Linked DNA regions of Homo sapiens: region 2 is linked to region 1. Evidence: promoter capture Hi-C in human tissues and cell types (Jung and others, 2019). All regions are on one chromosome and are shown on one strand. Each heading gives the region's core, a stretch centred on a gene start or on the middle of the fragment in contact. The rest is flanking DNA. Distances are from core to core; before and after follow the strand shown.

Region 1 (3,735 bases), core at 816-3,315:
GCCTCTGCCCACCTCCCTGACCTCAACTCCTATCACCCTACTCACTCTTGCCCTCACTTACCCATTCCCATTTCCTCCCCTGGCCCCCCGATTCCTTGCACCACACTAAGCTCTTTGTTACCTTAAGGCTTTTGCTCATGTGCCTCACACCCCAAGTCTTTTTTTTTTTTTTTTTTTAGACGGAGTCTCGCTCGCTCTGGCTGGAGTGCAATGGCACGGTCTTGGCTCACTGCAACCTCCACCTCCCTGGTTCAAGCAATTCTCCCTGCCTCAGCCTCCTGAGTAGCTGGGATTACAGGCTCCTGCCACCACACCCAGCTAACTTTTGTATTTGTTAGTAGAGATGGGGTTTCACCATGTTGGCCAGACTCACACCCCAAGTCTTTGACCTGGCTCTATCCTACTTCTCCTCTAGGTCTCAGCTCAAATATCACCTCTTCAGAGGTACTGCTCCCAAACCCCTACATCCGATCTCAGCCAACAGGCTTCAGTCATCCTCCGTCACTACACTGTTTTATTTTCTTCACATACTCATCAGTGTCTGAAGTTGTCTTACCAATTTGTGTATTGCATTGTGTTGTGTTCCCAACCAGATTGTCAGCTCCACAAGGGCAGGGATTTTGCTGTATCATTCACTTTATCCTCAGTGCCCAGTGCAGTGCATGACACATAGTGGTGGAGGGTGGGGGAGGGGTGGGAAGGATGGCAAATGTTTATTCTGGAATGAATAAGAGGCTCTCAACAATGGTGTGTTAGATTTTTGCATAAGCTGGGCATTGGGTTTAGGACATAAGCATCTAGGTGGGTTGTGGCTGAGATGACTTGTGATTCAAGGTGTGAGAAGCTGGACCCTGGGCTGTTGGAGAGACATTAGGTTTGGGAAACAAGTGTCCAGGTTGTGGGTGAATTGGTATAAACTGGGCTGGCTCCAGCTGTTACCAGTAGAAGGTGTCCAGGTACTTGGCATCTTGGAGAAAACACACAAACGAAGCAAGGAAAGCAAAAGCAAGGATTTACTGAGAACGAAAAGTCCACCCCACAGTTTGGGAGCAGGCTTGAGCGTAGAGGCTCAAGAGCTCTGCTTACAGAATTTTCTAGGGTCTCAATACTCTAGAGGTTTCCCATTGGTTACTTGGTGAATATTCTATGTAAATGAAGAGAATGAAGTGAAGTCACAGAGTCATTTACTCAGAATGTGCCCTATTGCAAATGGAGAGGATGTGCAAATGGAGAGGATGTTACTTGGTGGGAGAGGATGAATGTGAAGTTACAAAGTATAAATGGAGAGGATGTTTCTTGGAGTGTGTGGTCTGTGTAAATGGAGAGGATGAATGTGAAGTTACAAAGTGTAAAGGGCGTGAATGGAGAGGATGAAGTGAAGTTGCAAAGCCGTTTACATTCCTGTCATTGCTAAGGTGCTTTTTGATTTAGGTCTAGGAAGTCAGCCTTATGTTCCCTGCCTCCAGGCCCTATTTTTCTGCCTCACAACAGGTAACATCAGACTGTTGAGGGCAGACTGGACCCCAGATTTCGGGAAGCAGGAGTTGTCCAGCAGGGCAGTGGCTGAGTTAGACTGTGACTTCAGCAGTGTTCAACAGGTATAAGGTCATTGAAGACCAAGAATCAAGCAATCGAGCGTCCTCGTCGGTTGTAGCGAAAGAGAACCGTGACCAACAGGAGAGCAGTGTCCACCCAGGTCACTTGGGGTTACTGGGGTACAATTTTGGGGGAAACGGGGGTCCTGGGGAGCGTTGGCTGGGTGGGGCTGTAACCCGAGCTGGTGGGCGGGTTGTGAGCTGTGACCTGGCCCGAGTCGGCCCGCCCGGATTGGGGGGCCAAACCGGGGGCGGCGGGAGGCACACCTGGGGAAGACTCACCTGGGAGCGGCTCACTTGGGCCCTCCGGGACCCATGAACCGGCGCACCTCCTCTGCGTCCCGCCCCCGGCCGGCCCCCCGGCCAATGGGGGCGCGGAGACCTCGGCGGCGGGCGCGGATTGGGAGCCGGTGAGCGGGGGCGGGGCGGCGCGCCCGGCAGTTTAGGCGCTCGGCCGGCGGGCGGCGCTGAGCGCTCGGCTACGAGGGCGCCGTGCGGGCGGAAGTGGCGACGCTGGCGTCCCCGGAGCCTGCGGCGGGCGGCTGTGACGGCCCCGGCGCTGACGGCGGCGGCCGGGGGGGCGGTGTCGACGCCCGCGGCGCCGGCTGGGGCATCACCGCGGGCCTCGACCCCGAAATGGCGCTGCTGGCCGAACACTTGCTGAAGCCGCTGCCCGCGGACAAGCAGATCGAGACCGGGCCCTTCCTCGAGGCGGTGTCCCACCTGCCGCCCTTCTTCGGTGAGCCGGAATGGAGGGGGGAGGCGGCCCGCAGCCCCACGCGCACCCGAATCCTCCTTCCCCCGAGCATCCCCTAACCATCTCTGCCCTAGACACCCCTAAGTACTGTTTCCCCAGGCACCCAAGATCCTCTTTCCCTCCACTCACCCTAAATTCTCCCTTTCCCGGACCACTCCCAAGTCCTCTCCGCTCTAAACATGTCACATCCTGCCTGTCCTCCCCAAATCCTCCCTCTCCCTAGACACCTCACAGTCCTACATATCCCCCAAATGCCCCCTGATCATCCGTGCCCCCAACACGGATGATCTTCCATCTCCCTTAGGCATTCTGTAATCCACCATCTCCCCCAAAGCCTCCTGCCCCTTCTTCCCCAAAGTCCTTCATCCCTGGCGCTTTCTGATGGCTCTCAACTCGCTCCCCTTACAATGAATCCCCCCATTTCATAAGCCTTCTCTTTGAACGCTTCCAGCCTCTCCCTCATGGGACCTACAAACCCTTCCTTCTTCCCTCAGAATTCGCCCATTCCAGATCAAAGACTCCCATCTCCCCCTCCAAGGGTAGGAAGCCTGGTGAGGCGGGGACAAGGAGAGGGTTTTGAAGATGGAGTTGCAAAATTCCAGGGCCTCTTTCTAGGGGAAACCACCTAAAGTTTTTCCTCCTTTTAGGACAGGGGTGAGGGTTGTCGGGGGAGCTGTTTTGTGAGGTGACATCAGACATACAGAGCTTGGCACCAATTCCTCCCTCAGTTTGGGCTCTACGAGAGGAAGCCCCTCCCCTGTATGTCGTGTGGAAGTTCCTGGGCGCATTGGGAAGGCGGTCCACTTTCAGACCCTCTTCCCGCACTCCCTCAGCCTAGCCCAGTCCAGCCAAGGCCCCAGATGGAAAATGGGAACTAGAAGCCAGCACCACTGCCCCTGCCCTTTGCCTTTTGGGTCCCGGGTAAAGGGTGCAACCTGAGCCTCTATTCTCCTTCTCCATGTGGGCTCTGTCCTGTCCTGCTGGTTCACTTGGTGGCCTTGCAGGAAAATACCAGCCCCCAGGGCAGAGTCCACCTGAAACCCAAAGACAGGAGATCTTAAGACAGTCCGACTTAGTGGGCAAAGAAGGCTTGTTAGGGGTGGTAGTTCCCACAGTGTCCTGAGCTCTGGGATGGTTGTGGTTACCTGGAGGCTATAGTTCCCCTCCTTCACCTCGTGAGCCTCAGTGTCCCCAGCTGTGAAACGGGGATGCTGATCTCCTAGGGCAGCTGTGAGGAGTCGATGAGGTGGTGTGTGTAAAGTACCGAGGCCGTAAGTGCCAAATAGGTCTTCGCTGTAGGGGGTGTGGTTTTAAGTTCCTGAATCCAGTTTTGGTTCCTTGCTAGAGTGATTAATCGGTGTTTGAGGGAGTGCAATTGTCTGG
Region 2 (3,381 bases), core at 282-2,781, 260 kb after region 1:
GGTGGATCACTTGAGGTCAGGAGTTTGAGACCATCCTGGCCAACATGGTGAAACCCCATCTCTACTAAATATACAAAATTAACTGGGCGTAAGTGGTGGGTACCTGTAATCCCAGCTACTCGGGAGGCTGAGGCAGAAGAATCACTTGAACCTGGGAGGCGGAGGTTGTGGTGAGCTGAGACGGTGCCACTGCACTCCAGCCTAGGCAACAGAATGAGACTTTGTCTCAGGAAAAAAAAAAAAAAAAAAAAGAAGCCTGTTTGTTGGCCAGGCATGGTGGCTCACACCTGGGAGGACTTTGGGAGGCTGATGTAAGCAGATTGTTTGAGTCCAGGAGTAGTTCCAGACCAGCCTGGGCAACATGGGGAAATCCAGTCTCTACAAAAAATATAAAAATTAGCTGGGCATGGTGGTGGGCGCCTGTAGTCCCAGCTACTCGGGAGGCTGAGGCAGGAGAATGGCTTGAACTCAGGAGGCGGAGGTTGCAGTGAGCCAAGATGGCACCACTGCACTCCAACCTGGGCAACAGAGTGAGACTTCATCTCAAAAAGAAAAAAAAAATTAGCTGGGGATGATGGTGTGCACCTGTGGTCCCAGCTACTTGGGAGGCTGAGGTGGGAGGACCACCTGAGCCTAGGAGGTTGAGGCTGCAGTGAGCCATGACTGCCTCAATGCACTCCAGCCTAGGTGATAGAGTAAGACCCTGTCAAAAAAAAAAAAAGGAAAAGAAAGAAAGAAAAAAAGAAGAAAAAAGGAAAAAGAAAAAAAAAGAAAAGAAGCCTGCTTCTCAGGAGCAAACTCCTTCACCTGACAAGAAAAATTCCAGGCCTCCCTCCTCTGTCCAGGCTTAAATGACTTCAGGCTCAAAGCACCCCAGCCCTGCCATAGGACCCCCTACCTGACCCAGGGATTCCAAACCAGAGTCTACTGGTCAACCCAAATATAGGTGCACAGGGAATATGAATCTAGAGTTCCTCTAGCAGCTGTGGGGCCATTGTTGGACAGGGCAGACAATCTAGCCCAGGCCAGGGCTCAAGCTTGTACAATCAGGACCACTAGGAATAATATGAGACTCAGAAACCCCATCAGGCCTGGGTTCAAATCCTGACTCTGCATGGCACCAGCTATGTGACCTTGGGAAAGCTATTGAGCCTCCCTGAGCCTTAACTTCCCTTCTTTTGGAAACTGGAGAGCAAATATGCCTCCTAGGATGTCGCTAGAATCAAATATAATCATGGCTTTGAATTCTCCCTGTACCTAAAGGCTATACAGAGGTCCTTAGCAAAGTGTTTGTTGAATGAATGATTTTAAAGGACAATCTGAAAAGAGGTGGGGGAGGGGGGCATCAAAGGAAGCTATAGATCTCAGCCCAACCCCCGGCTCCCAAATCCCTCCCACTATACAGCCTGGGTCTCGGTGAAGCAGCAGCTGCAGTCCCTTCCTGGGGCGGGGACCCCCTTCCTCTGCTCTGAGCCCCTCCCCGAGCTGCAGGAGGCACAGATACATGTTCGGAGGGGGCATTATCTGTGCTCAGTTGACTGTAAACGTTTAAGCGGAATTGACTGTGTACTCAGCCACTTGCAAACACAACTAATCTTCATTGGGGCGACGGGAAGTGAAATATGTTATTGTCGGTGGCAGTAAATTACCCGTGCCAGACCTGGCGTGTGAGGCATTACGGGCCATGGCCGGCGCACTCCTTCACCCGGCCGCCACCCGTCCGCAATTCATTACTGCAAACGACCCTGGTCATCTCCTTGCCAGGCCTGGGGACGTGAGGCTGGCCACCAGCCTCCCAGGGCCTGGACCCCGCCCACCTTGGGCAGCAGGTGGGGAAGAGGGCCAAGGGGCCAGAGCCTGGCACTGATGCCTGGGCAGGAGATGTGAGAAGACCTTTGCTCATCAGCTTCTAGGTCGGCGACCAGATGGGGAGACTGAGGCACAGCAGAGAAAGGGATTTGATCCAAGGCACAGCTCTGCCACTTTCTAAGCCCCAGTTTCAGCACCCATAAAATGGGAATTCATTTATTGTTTAACATTTTTGCAAATCTCTGTAATGACTGGCTTAATAGAACACAGCTGGATTCTCATATGTGCTTTTGCATTCAGCTTGTTGCAACATGTTTTGGTTTAAGTGTGGGAAGAATATCTGGCTTCACACAGATATTTGGCTCAAAAAGGAAAGAGTATTTTAATAGCCTTCTCAGATAATTATGGATATCCTTCTTGGATACTAAACCAGATCTTCACAAGTGGTAGTTTCTCAATGGTTTGTTACAATATGGTATCTGAAACCACATCAATGAGCTCTTCCTACTCTGTTAAAACCCGCTGGTCTGCTTTGCACTTTGAATGGGTCTTTTATTCATTTTGTAACATGATGCATTGGTCATTGGAAAAAATACTGGTTTACTGAATTATGCATCTCTTCTAGATGATGTCACATTTCATAATACAATATCCAAAAAAGTCACATTCACTAATATACCACCAGTCTCTGGGAAAGTATTTAAGTAGGAAGCTGTCAAACCCACGGTGGCAGACACAAGTTCTCCAAAATTCTAATTTTTGCTTGCAAGTCAAATTTTATCATTGGCAACAAATACTGTCAGTTGACAGGCAACTTTGTTCATTTTTAAGAGAATATCTGCCAATGTCCCAGTCTGAAAGGCTATAGTTTGTTGGTTGGTTGTTCTTTCAAGTACAAATGGTGTTCCATGAAGAGTGGCTAGCGCAGCTTGCAACCCAGTCACACGGTGCTTGTCTCAAGCAACGACGGAGCCAGGAGAGAGGGTTCTTGTTGTACATACTTCCCATTTTGTCACACAGAATATTTAGAAGTGGCATGTTCAAAGGTTGAGATTTTTTTAATTAATACCTTTAAATTTTCTTTTTTTCTTTTTTTTGAGACAGGGTCTTGCTCTATCGCCAGGCTGGAGTGCAGTAGCATGATCTCGGCTCACTGCAAACTCTGCCTCGCGGATTCAAGCGATTCTCCTGCCTCAGCCTCCCAGGTAGCTGGGACTACAGGCGCCCGCCATCACACCCAGCTAATTTTTGTGTTTTTAGTAGAGACAAGGTTTCACCATGTTGACCAGGCTGGTCTCGAACTCCTGACTTCAAGTGATCCTCCCACCTCAGCTTCCCAAAGTGCTGGAATTACAGGTGTGAGCCACCACGCCCAGACCCTTTAAATTTTCATCAAGGGCATTCTTAAGTGAAACTGGCTTTTTTGCCAAGAGTATTTAAGATGAAGAAAGAGATGATTTCTCTCCCAGTGTGGTTCCACTGCTCTGGTCGATGCTACGAAACCAGCAGTTGTAGCCACCCATGACTTTTGCACCCTGAGTGCAAATGTCAACATGGTGAAAAAGGCCAATA

Evidence for each region. Contacts are between HindIII fragments. The study calls those that stand out against the background at their distance.
Region 2: a fragment that was not itself captured here is called in contact with the fragment with the promoter of GLTP in region 1 in 1 of the 25 tissues and cell types used here (adrenal gland).

What each region holds. Positions count from the first base shown.
Region 1 is chr12:109,878,871-109,882,605 of GRCh38, reverse strand. It overlaps GLTP (glycolipid transfer protein), which reads left to right and starts at 2,065. Exons shown (of 5, transcript NM_016433.4): 1 at 2,065-2,334. The coding sequence starts at 2,232. It overlaps LOC124903012 (a long non-coding RNA gene), which reads left to right and starts at 1,205. Exons shown (of 3, transcript XR_007063455.1): 1 at 1,205-1,245; 2 at 1,432-1,491; 3 at 1,599-1,708. It also overlaps a transcript of TCHP not described here. RefSeq lists an enhancer at 982-1,483 and a silencer at 1,808-2,357. The HindIII fragment of the contact is 8,000 bases long and covers 396-3,735 here.
Region 2 is chr12:109,620,345-109,623,725 of GRCh38, reverse strand. No RefSeq gene overlaps it. Among named protein-coding and RNA genes, the nearest start is that of MVK, 48 kb to the right of the region's middle. The HindIII fragment of the contact is 6,657 bases long and covers 1-3,381 here.